4 separate regions of the Homo sapiens genome follow, and regions 2, 3 and 4 are each linked to region 1. Evidence: promoter capture Hi-C in 16 types of primary human blood cells and fetal thymus (Javierre and others, 2016). All regions are on one chromosome and are shown on one strand. Each heading gives the region's core, a stretch centred on a gene start or on the middle of the fragment in contact. The rest is flanking DNA. Distances are from core to core; before and after follow the strand shown. Region 1 holds the start of TCF21 (transcription factor 21). Region 2 has its middle 39 kb from the start of ALDH8A1. Region 3 holds the start of ALDH8A1 (aldehyde dehydrogenase 8 family member A1). Region 4 holds the start of TAAR6 (trace amine associated receptor 6).

Region 1 (2,878 bases), core at 365-2,864:
GAGATCCTAGTAAGTTGTTGTTATTGTTTTTCTTTAGATCTTAGAAGTTTTAAAATAAAATCAAATGAAAAAAATTAAGATATATTTCTTAAACAGTAAAATACATTTGAGAAAAAAGTAGACTCAATGATTATCAGTTTTTTGTGTTAAAAAATTAGGCTCAATGGGCATTACTTTTTAAGATAAAAGGTAACATTTCTTAAATCTTGGGTGAGAGTGACCTATTTTAGTATTTATTACACTCATACTAGTGAGGATTTACTGATTTTGCTGATCATTACTAGAACTTCTGGGATTTAAAAATATTAATCCACTTATAGGAGAAGCACAGAATATTTAAGCGGTTAAGGGCTTACGTGGACAATTTGGGGGGCATAGATGTGTCCTTATCCAATGGTCCTAAATATGCTTGTGAAAGAAACGGAGTTGGGTGTTTTTATTTACAAGGAAAGGAAAATCAAGTTCCACTCTCTGCTAAAAGAAGAAAAAAGGATTAACAAAATGCCTGTCCGCTCGCAGCGTCTTGTCAGTGTTCTCAGTTCCGCAGCAGCCACTGCACCCCAGGGAGGATGGCGATGGAGCGGGAGCGGGGGATCCCTCCTCTGTGCCAGCTCAACACACTTGCAAACTTTTAATTGGGCTGCCACGTCAAACCCTCGCATAAATCACTCCCGCTCCGGGGGCTGGTAGGGCAGAGAGCGAGGGCCGTGTCTAGACCGCCCGCCTCCGGTCCCTGGAGGCTCTAGGCCCGCGGTGGTCGAGATGTGTAAGTCACCGCCGCGCCCACACCCCCACTCCCAGCCCCGCGCGCACTCGCGCCCACCGCAGGCGGGAGTGCGGGCGCGCCTGGACTGCAGCTGCAGCCCCGGGAGCACTCACCAGGTTGACCGGGTGAATGTACCCGTTCTCGTATTTGTCGTTAGCCAGGATCTGCCTCAAGTGGGCGATGTAGCTGGACGCCAGCCTGAGCGTGTCCAGCTTGGAGAGCTTGGTGTCGGGGGGCACCCAGGGCAGGGTGGTCTTGAGTCTGGAGAAGGCCTTGCTCAGCACTCGCATGCGGGCCCGCTCTCGCGCGTTGGCGGCGTTGCGCTGGACCTGCTTCCCCTCCTGGCTGACCCCGCTCAGGGGGCTCTTCTTGGTGGGCGCCTTCCTCCTCTTGCCCAGGCCGCCGCGGCCCTTCTGGGGAGACCCATTCTCGCAGTTGGAGCTCTCCTCGGTGCTCTCGTTGGAAGTCACAAATTCCTTGTTCGAATCCATTTTCAACCCGTCACATTCCAACATCTCCACCTCTTGAAGGTCCTCCACATCGCTGAGGGAGCCGGTGGACATGTTTGGGGGAGTGGACGAGGGAGAGAGAGAGAGAGAGACAGAGAGACAGAGAAAGCGAGGAAGAGGGTGAGAGAGAGACAGAGAGACCCTGAAACCAAGAGGCCTCCCGAGTGTGGCGCAGCCACCTCCTGCTGGGAGCTGGAGTTGGGGTCTGGTTGGGTCTCACAACCCTTTCCCCTTCGCAGAGTTGTGAGAAGGAACCCCGAGGACTTCTGCAGCAGAGGAACCGGCTCTCTGTTTCCCCACTCCCAGAGTCGTGGCCGTAGAGGAGGGTGAGCGAGCGCTGAGGAATTTGGTGGACACTAGGAATTTATCTGGGGAATAGAGGGGCGGATCCTTGCAGCCCAGGGAGGGGCCTGCCAGGCCCCAGCAAAGCGCTTAGACCCCTTTCACAACCGGAGGGAAACTCAATGCACAGACCCTGATTTGCAACTTGTAATGTAAATCAACTCAACTGCATCATGTACTTACCAGCCACCTTCTCCCAACTGTGGCCGGGGCCGAGAAGCAGCATGTTCTGTCCATCTGTAAAAGGCCTTCTTTCTCTCTTAAGACGTCACAACTGGTTGTTACTGAGAACTTTAGAAAAACGACTAGATCGTTTGGCTCTTTCTGGGCCTTCCACCTACACTCCATGCCCTCTCTCCTCCCAAGAAAACACGAATTAAAATACAGGGAGTATCAACCGCATCCTGCCAACACCTCATAAGACTCCAAGGCTTTACCGAGATCTTCCACCTTCCCCGGGATAAATGAAGACAAGTGCTTCCTAGAATCTTTATGGTGATGGAAAAGTAAGTATAAAACATTTCACCTACACCTGGTCATTTTCAAGACATCAAAGGACTGCCTACGTGTACACAAACATACTTGATTTGCACACTCAAACCCAACCACACACAGCTTAGTGGGAGTGGGTAGGGAATGAGAGGGCAGTATGAGTGTGTGGAAAACATTATGTTAGTTGATCATCTTTTCCTAATAAATGGAAACTTTCCCCTCGGTTTTTTTTTCTTTTCTAGAAATGCATTTAATATTGCCTTGAGAGTCTTTGTTGCTCTCAGACATCACCTTGCCTGGCACTTTTTGTGATGCACCGTCCCTTTCAATGCTGCTGTCTTTGTCTTCTTCCAGCCTGTTAGGTGCCAGTGTTCCTCACATGAAGCTGACATTACACAACACAAAGCAAGACTATCCTTTTGAGAAAGGTTCTTTTCCATCTTTAACCCCAGCTCGAACCACCTTTCCTAGAGAATAAGAAAGTCTCCTGGGAAGTAGGTAGAAAAAGCACAGGGAAACAGAACCTAGGGATTGGATGAAATTGGTGCAATGAAACCAGGGAGACTGAAGGCATAAATCTCTCTTACAATTTCTTTGCCAGGTTTTCTTCCCTTGCAGGTAGGCATTGAAGTTGAGGGGCTGGAGCAAAATGTAAGAGTGGTTTCTGAGTGGTTGGCTTAGGGTCTGAAGGCTTCTCCTACATTAAGATATCATATCTCTAATCCTAGGCTCAGCTGGGAATTCACTAACCTCTAACGTTTTGTTTTGC
Region 2 (2,820 bases), core at 243-2,742, 1.0 Mb before region 1:
ACGTGGTGATTGAAGAACATCTTTAAAAAGAACATGGATTTAAAAATAAGGTTTAATAATCTGGAAGATCTTAGATATGTAAAAAAGCTAAAGGGGAACAGAATATCCCATCCCAATATATGCTACTTTGATACATTGATTGTTTTGAGCTGAGGGTAATTGAGAAAAAGCAGACACAGGAAAAGCTATTTTCCCCCTGTTTGCCTAAAAGGAGGGCATAACATTCCCTTATGATAGTTTTCTCTCTTGTACCAGGAGAGAAAGAGTAACCTTTATTTCTGGAGATGGAGATGGTGCCGAGATGTCTGCATAAACAAATCTCACTAAATAACTTTTACCTTCATTGGATTTTCCCCCAGATTTTTACCTTTCTACAATTTACTGGCCCTAAAAACCCAAACTCCCTCTTCTTTGTTAGTCATTTCTCAACAATCTTTCACCTTTGGTTAAAATGGCACTTATGGCCCCAAGACTAGCCACTTATTTGGGTTTTTACTTCTTTTCTATGGAGCTCCCATGCACATAAAATTTAAAATAAAATTCGTATGCCTTTTTCGCCTGTCAATTTGACTTTTGCCAGTTTAATTCACAAGGCCCAACTGAAGAGGGTAGAGGAAAATTTTCCTCTTCTACATAAATAAGATAAAAAACGTGTTCATCTACTTTGTGTTTGTCAAGCATGGATCAAATTCAAAACTTTACATTTGCCATGATTCTAGAACTAGCACAGAAATAATTTTTTTTTAAAAAGGAGAAAAAGATGGCTTCAGAGTTTTTAGGAGCAAAAATTAGAGGTTGTGGATGACATGATTAAGTACTGGCCCCAGGGTGTTCTCTCCTCATTAAATGGTCTGATCATCCTACTAGAAGGCTTCATTTTATAAGAGAAGAATTCATTGCTTTAATAAGTTTAATCCAAAACACTTGAGTCAGTAAATTCCTGATTTAAAATTCCTACAAAATATTACTCCATACTCCCAAGTTGACTTTTTTCTTGTTAGATTGATTTATTAGTACCTACTCTCCCTCCTAAGTTTTCAACTACAAAGTATTGTTTTCTCTTTTGAAGCCCAAGCACATACTTTGGAGAACATTATAGAAATGCTGTGATTCACCCTATGAGTTATAACCACAGTCTCTCAATCACATGATGGAGAGTAGAGCCCTGGAGAGGCTATTCAAGGGGTTACGTGTAATGAACTCTCTAAATACAATTCACTTGAACAGTGGGCTGGGCCAGGCCACACCTGTCTGGGTGGTGGTCAGAGGGCTGTGGCTCCATTCCCCACTGGTTGGGCCACAATCCTTGCCAAGCAATAGGCACCTATTAGCAGATTTTACACTGTCTGATGAGCCAGGGTACATGGCTTCCATATTCTCACTTATGGGATGTGTGGTTGCTACTCAGAAATCAATAAAATCTAAAATAATTATAATTTGGTTTCTGCCTTATTGTAAACAAATGTGTCATTTCTCCAGACATGGGACAATTACTGTAGTGATTTTGATTTTTATTACATTCAGTGCAGCAGATTTTTGTGGAGTCTCTATGCTGTCATTGCAAGATCATGGCATTGATCTTGAATCTATAGGGATAAAATAAGTCCTGGCATACATCTAATATGAAAAATAATCTCTACCTTCAAGGAGTTTGCACTCTATGGAGAATGGAAGAGTGTTGGAATGCATTTTCAGAGCACTGCATGTGAAGCAGAGAGATAATGCTTATGTATATTTAGAACTACATAAATAATAAAGAAAAGAAAAAGAAAAAATGGAACTGGGATGCCTTAAAATTCTTCAGAACATGGAAATGAAATGTTGCTTTCTGGCTGGCTAACCTCTAAGGCAATCAAAATAGAATATAATTAGCTATCTATTGCTGCCAGGGCTTAAACCATTTTTCCAAATTGTGTTTGCCAAGACAAAAGGAGGTATTTTCTGTAGTACAGGAGAGGTGAATGAGAGGATGAGTGGGTTGAACAGTCCTGAGTAATTATTGCATTTATTTAGGTTTCTGCAGCTATCTATCAGGCCCTTGGCTTATGATAGCAAATGATAATGAACAGTCAAAAGGCAGAAATAGCAACATTCACCCTATCATGACACAGGGACATTATATTCTTTTTATACACAATACAGTGCAAAGGTTCAGGGAGAGCGAGAAGTATGACCTGAAGCCATTTTTCCACTACTCATCATTTTTGACAGTTACAAGAAATCCAGAGAAGGGATTTTCTTGTCTAATTATTTCTAACCTTAAAGTTCAGGGAGTCAGTCTTTCTCAAGATTAGGATTCACTAAATACATCCTGAGGAAAGGGTGCAGTACATGTTCTGCGAATACTGTCCAGGAGCTGTGAACTCTCTCCCTTTATTTAGGATATCAGAGGAAGGGGCAGGAGAGGGGAGGAGAGTTCAGTCATCTCAGCTTGAAGCAAGTGCTCGGTAAGCACTTTGGTATCGCTCCCAAGGGGGACTGTATCACTTCCATCCCAATGACTGAACTCGACCTGAATGCAGACCGCTGAGTCCAAGTCCCAAGTCTCAGGACCCCAGGAGTTACTAGAAAGAAACGCTCAGAGCTGCTTTCTGGTAGATTATTAGTGGGAGAATACATTTCCCCTAAGATACCTAAAATCAATGCAAAGAGGACCTCAGAAGTATGTATTTTGCTGAACTTGAAACATCAGAGAAATTGTTCAAAAATCCCCTGAAGAGATAAATATGCTGATATTCAAATTTTTACCTATCTTGATGATTCTCACATGCTTTGATTTCTCAAGGATGTTGCATGAAAATCATTTTTCCTCTATTAGAA
Region 3 (2,842 bases), core at 15-2,514, 1.1 Mb before region 1:
GCTGTATATATTATTCACTAGTTTTATTTTTTCACTTAACAATGCATCCTTCTAATGTCTAAGTAGTATTCCCTGTTAAGAATATAACAATTATACTCTAATATTCTCCAATTGATGGACTTTAGGTTGTTTTGATTTTTAAATTATGATAAAAAAGGATGTCCTGTGACTTATGTACTTGTTCATGAGCACGTAATTCTGTAGGAGAGATTCCTAGAAGAGAAATTGACCAGACCCTGACAAATTGCCCCAAGCAGTGTTCTGTGAACCCTCCCGCCTATGGACTAGGGATGATTCTCCACATCCTCACAGAGTAGATGTTCTCAATCTTTAAAAATGCTCTCCAGTATGATTGGCAAATCAGGCCACCTCTGTATTTCACATTCCTTGCTTAACAACAAGGCTGAACATTGTTAATATATTCATTAGCCAATTGTGTTCCTTTTCCTATGGATTGCTTTTTTGTATCTTTGCTTATCTTTTCTGTTGGGGTGCTCATTTCTCTTACCAATTTGTAGAAATTCTCAGCTACATCAGGGATCTGAAGCCCTTGCTATATGTGTCACACATGTTTTTGGCTTGTCTTTATCTCCATGGCACATCTAGGAAGATGTGAGCAGCCACTGTGGCCCCGGTTTTGGGATGGAGAGACAGCTCTTCCAAGAGAGGGCAGCCAAGGTAAAGAAACACAGATGAGCCACGGAAAGAGGGCATCTGTCTTCAGTTACCTCTGCAGGGTAAGCAGTGATGCATTGAGGAAAAAGTATATGATTTGGAGATTAAAGGGCTACAGTTCATCCCCTGCTAACTATGTGACCTTGGAAAAATGGTCTAACCTCTCCAAGGCTCAGTTTCTTCTATAAAAGAGAGGAAGTAATGGTTACTTCATATAGGATTGTTGTGTGGAATAAACGAGTAAATTCATGTAAAGGACTTGCTTTGGGGCCTGGCATCCAATCAGTGTTTGAGCAATGAACAGTTTACGGTGTGAACCCAATAAAATCACATGCACAGATGCCTTCTGATGATTTAAAGGGCTATGAACACATAAGTAAGTAGCTGTTACTTTTACACACAATTATCCATGTCAGGTAATGTACTAGAAGTCTGTGAAACATTCAGCCACTCTCTTAGTTCTGAGTTTGGAGACTGGAATGCTCTCTGAGAGCGTCAGGTGCCCTCCCACATTCACTGATTGGTAAAGGGGAAGATGGGGGCTGGGAAGGGGGAGGCTCACTCAGGAGTCCAGACAGTGGTGGGGACAACCTGAGTGCTCAGTCGTAAAGAGGAAAGGCAGAATTTTTCCTTGCTATGGCTGGAACAAACGCACTTTTGATGCTGGAAAACTTCATAGATGGAAAATTTTTACCTTGTAGCTCATATATAGATTCTTACGACCCATCAACAGGGGAAGTGTATTGCAGAGTGCCAAATAGTGGAAAAGACGAGGTGAGTATATGCACTTAAAGAAGACTGAAATGTGTTTAATATGTTGGCCAATTATGGGTAACAGTTTTCTAAAAGCAGAGGGAGTTGGGGGAAGATGTAGGATTGTTAAACATGATAGAAGGAAGATTCTAGTTCTCAGAAGATGTACCTTGTAACTGGACTGTATGATACCTAGAACAAATCTCTTCCTATATGCAGAAAGTAAGTCATTTTTCTAGCCAACCTAACACAGCCCTGTGTGCAGTTTTTTTTTGCAATTCTCAAACATTTCCTAATCAGTGTCTAGTACAAAGTATTATTTGTAAGAGCTATCACTTTGTTAAATATTCCCTTTTCTCCACCACGCACTGCTTAAATTTACCACTATATCCATGGAATTAAAAAAAAAGTATAGCTTTACTAAAATAAACAAACAAGCAAAAAACTGTGGGCTTTGTTTTAGATTGTCTTCTCATAATTTGTCATGTCTTCAAAATACCTAGTAAAATAAAATCAATCATTTGAATGATGAAACTCAAAATCAAATTCCCATATATTTTTGGAGTTAGATTTAACAGCGTCTTTTTTCTTATCCAAAGTGTTTAATGGCATATGCATTACATTTTTTTGGTGATGTAGAATTAATTTTACTTGGAGAATTTTGTAAAATATTTGAGATATATTTGATTAGCTATCAATTATTGCACTGAGAATGTAAATATATCTGAAGTGGTAAATGTAGCTGATGTATATATAGTCATCTAATGCCTTATGAATTATAATTTATTCTTTTTAAGGCACAAATAACTAGATTATTTAAAATATAGTCTTCCTATAAAAATATATATTCCATGCAAAGTTTTTTTTTAAGAACATTGCTATTTTTTTTCTTTTTTGTTAATACTTCAAATCTGTCTTGCATTTAAAGTAAACCTTCAGACTTAGGGATTAATGTTTGCAAATGTTGGTTAATGCATTGGTTAAATTATAAACTGCAATTTTGTTTGCTTCAAATGACTTAACACAGCTCTGGGAAATCCAGCTTTGTGTTTTCCACTCTTCCTTGTTTGCCAAAGTGAAGTTAAAAATGACAAACATGCCAAATTCAGCTGAAATATTTCCTGCAGCTAATGGCTCATAACTTTTTAGAAAATAGAATGAGCTATGGATGCGCTAGCTAGTAGAGTAATAGATATGTTCAGTTTCTCAGCAATCCAACTTCCAAATATCCTATCTGATCCCATAAGTCATAGTTTTTTCCGGCTTGAAAAATATGGTTACCATACAAACTGCATGTCCAATTTCCAAAACATCACTCAGGAAAATGTTGCTGGTGCTGCTAACAGTGGCTCCCGTTTATTCAACTTTTGCTTTGTGCTTTGCAGTCATTAAGCCCTTTTTTAACAAAAAATTA
Region 4 (3,015 bases), core at 474-2,973, 1.3 Mb after region 1:
TAAACAGTTTTGTGCAATAGCAAGAACAGCAGCCAAATAATCATCCTAACATCATTCTGGGAAGTACAGTGGCTTCTGCTTCCCACTTTGGGGGAGGAAATAATTACAAGAATGACAGTAACTGGTTTGACAATTACAACAGCCTGGTCAAGATGATGTCTTCATTTGCAAATTGCCCCATACACCCTGAGATCTCTCCCAAGATTGAATAAATTAAATTAATACCTAAAAGGACTCCTGTGGTAAAATAACCAAAGCAAAAGAAACCAATAATTTGATAAAGGCTATTCACAAATGAAATTTTTGGCAGGCTGGGAAAGAGTAGAAAGCTTTGTAAAGAAAAGAGGAAAGGGAATAAATAAAAAAAAAAAAACAAATATTTTTAGGAAAAATACCAGAGCAGAGGGAAGAGTCAATGGATTAAAAGACAAAAAGTGTCTGCAGGGAGTGGGATATGCTGAGCTCTAAAGCAGTTAACAAATAGGAATTTAACATTTGTTAGCCAAGTAAATACTTTTGCAGAAGGGACAGGAAAGTGCACATCTTAACAAGACTGAAAAACATTGATTTGTTTTTCATTTGAAGAGCAATTTATTTGCTATTCATTCATAGTCTTACTTGATTTTTAAAAACTCATTTCGCTTGGTAATTTTAAAGGTATCCTGAACTTCGTCTATACAACTGCTTATATATGTTCAGAAAACAAATTCATGGTTGCTGAACTGTTCTTTAAAACCTGACCAGTTACAATAACTTTTATTGCTTTCCTAAACCATGGGTAAAATAAAGCATAAATCAAAGGATTCATGGCTGAGTTATAATAAGCACACCAACAGCAAATCTCATAAATACAGGCAGGGGTTATAAAGCCCATAAAGGCATCAATTAATGAATCAATGCTATATGGTAACCATGAAATCATAAATGCTACCACTGTGACCCCCAGGGTTTTAGCTGCTTTTCTCTCTCTCCTGGCCACTCTGGCTTTGTAACTCTCTGAGGATGATTCTGTCTTGCTACCAGTATTTTCTATCTTTTTCGCCTGTCGTCTAGCCACAAGAAATATGTTACCATACAGAATTATCATAATAAAGGTAGGTATAAAGAAGGATAGAAAATCTGTCAACACCCAGTTTTGATTTACAACGGTCTGACAACCTCCTATACAGTTTAGGGCATCAGATAATTCCTCCAGCCCATCGTCATAGACACCTGTGTAGAACACAGCACCGCTGTACATGAGGGGCAGGATCCAGGACACGCTGATGCAAATTCCTGACACAGATACGGTGAACTTGGTAGGATAGACCAGGGGGTCAGTAACCGCAATGTACCTGTCGATGGAGATGAAGCACAAGTGAAAGAGAGAAGAGTAACAAAATGCCACATCACAGCAGGTGTGGAAAGTACAAAAACTCCTCCCAAAATACCAGCAGCTCTCCACCGTCCTGACCATGCTGAAGGGCATCACAGTCACACCCACCAAGAAATCAGCGCAGGCCAGAGAGGCAACGAGAAAATTGGTCGGAGAGTGCAGCTGCTTGAAATGGAGGATTGAAATCATCACCAGGAGGTTTCCAAACACAGCCAGCACAGCCCCAAAGCCAAACACTATGTACAGAATCACCCGGGATCCCGGCGAGAAGGGGATTTTCACACAGGACCCATTCACGTTCGCGTAGCACAGCTGCACAGCCACCAGCAGGGATGAATTGCTGCTCATAACGCTGTTATTTACATATGGAGAAGTTTTGTCCTTGTTGATTATCACAAAAAATACAGGATTGTTCCTGATTTTCAGTGCTCCTGCGGAAAAAAACACATATTCACCAGGATGCCAGAGGAAATGATCAGATATTATCTCTAATATAATTTTTCAAGTTTCCATTTTTATTATAAATCCCAAATGTTTATGACAAAATAAAATTTGACAAAAATTATATTGCACAAGATTATTGGAGATTGTTTCAACTGATAAATGTCTCATGCTCTTAATTTGATAAAATTCCTTTTGATTTTAAATATCCTTTCATATTTTATTTTTACCTTTTGAGTTTCTCTGTGCAACAGTCGCTGATATGGAATGTAATTATGGAGCTGAAAGATCACCTCCTGTTATCTTTATCTCTGTTATCTGTCCTGCATTACCGCCTTAAAGATGAAGTCCTTTTAGCTAAATAAATGCCTTCAATGGGAAAATCCCTCGATGGAATCCCTGTAGTGCGCGGTGTGAACTAGTATGATTATTTTCAACAGTGATTACTAGGAAAGTTATTCTACAAAACAGGTCTCTACTCTATATTAAATTCTATTATCATTATTGTTTTAGGCCAAAGATTTGTTTTTCCTTAGTGCATAGACTTGAACCATTCCCTTGTTCCCAATCATAACTTAGCCACCCGGGTTTTTGTTACAAAGATACAATAGGGTGTAAATAGTAAGCATCAATACTTGGCTCTTTCTCTTCTGTTAAGAATCAATTTTCCATCTGCATTGGTTACCAACAAGCAGAAATTATTATAATACATAGTGAGGGGAACTTGAGATTGATAAAATATATTGCATGAAAGCATTAAAGAACGACATGCTGTTTAGACACACCGGCATTTCTGAGATGCTGGTGGAAAGACCAGTCCTCTTCTCAAGACATTGTTACTGGGAACACATCTGCAATGTGTCTGCATCCACATGACAAATGGGCAGTGAGCCCTCTCTCTCTGACTACGCATTTGTTTGCAATTCCTGGTGACTGGCCTTTGTGCTCCCGATGCTAAAAGCAGTCAAAAAAATAAGAATAATGAACAGGAAACTGGAAAATGGGAAGAGAATCCTCAGTAATGTTCCCAACCCTGGAATGTAAAGACACTGCAGAGTGAAGAAAATATTGTTATTATTATATTATTGTCTTCCTGAAGAAGGGTTCAACTCTCTTTCCAGTACAGGGCTGTGACTTTAGAGACATTTGTGAACTTGCTTTTCAAGTTATAAAGAGTGATAAGTATTATTATTAATCAA

Evidence for each region. Contacts are between HindIII fragments. The CHiCAGO score rates a contact against its expected background, and 5 or more counts as called.
Region 2: a contact is called between a fragment that was not itself captured here and the fragment with the promoter of TCF21 in region 1, in 1 of 17 cell types (monocytes). The highest score is 5.4, in monocytes.
Region 3: a contact is called between the fragment with the promoter of ALDH8A1 here and the fragment with the promoter of TCF21 in region 1, in 6 of 17 cell types (naive B cells, monocytes, neutrophils and 3 more). The highest score is 11.3, in naive B cells.
Region 4: the fragment with the promoter of TAAR6 here is called in contact with the fragment with the promoter of TCF21 in region 1 in 4 of 17 cell types (total CD4 T cells, total CD8 T cells, naive CD8 T cells and 1 more); the score reaches 7.0 in total CD4 T cells.

The regions. Positions count from the first base shown.
Region 1 is chr6:133,887,849-133,890,726 of GRCh38, reverse strand. TCF21 (transcription factor 21) reads right to left here and starts at 1,614. Exons shown (of 2, transcript NM_003206.4): 1 at 880-1,614. The coding sequence starts at 1,329. TARID (TCF21 antisense RNA inducing promoter demethylation) reads left to right here and starts at 1,721. Exons shown (of 9, transcript NR_109982.1): 1 at 1,721-2,123. RefSeq lists an enhancer at 1,153-2,066. The HindIII fragment of the contact is 7,636 bases long and covers 1-2,878 here.
Region 2 is chr6:134,910,080-134,912,899 of GRCh38, reverse strand. No RefSeq gene overlaps it. Among named protein-coding and RNA genes, the nearest start is that of ALDH8A1, 39 kb to the left of the region's middle. The HindIII fragment of the contact is 3,763 bases long and covers 1-2,820 here.
Region 3 is chr6:134,948,523-134,951,364 of GRCh38, reverse strand. ALDH8A1 (aldehyde dehydrogenase 8 family member A1) reads left to right here and starts at 1,264. Exons shown (of 7, transcript NM_022568.4): 1 at 1,264-1,449. The coding sequence starts at 1,312. The HindIII fragment of the contact is 9,755 bases long and covers 1-2,842 here.
Region 4 is chr6:132,569,030-132,572,044 of GRCh38, reverse strand. It overlaps TAAR6 (trace amine associated receptor 6), which reads right to left and starts at 1,723. Exons shown (of 1, transcript NM_175067.1): 1 at 686-1,723. The coding sequence starts at 1,723. The coding sequence ends at 686. The HindIII fragment of the contact is 3,206 bases long and covers 332-3,015 here.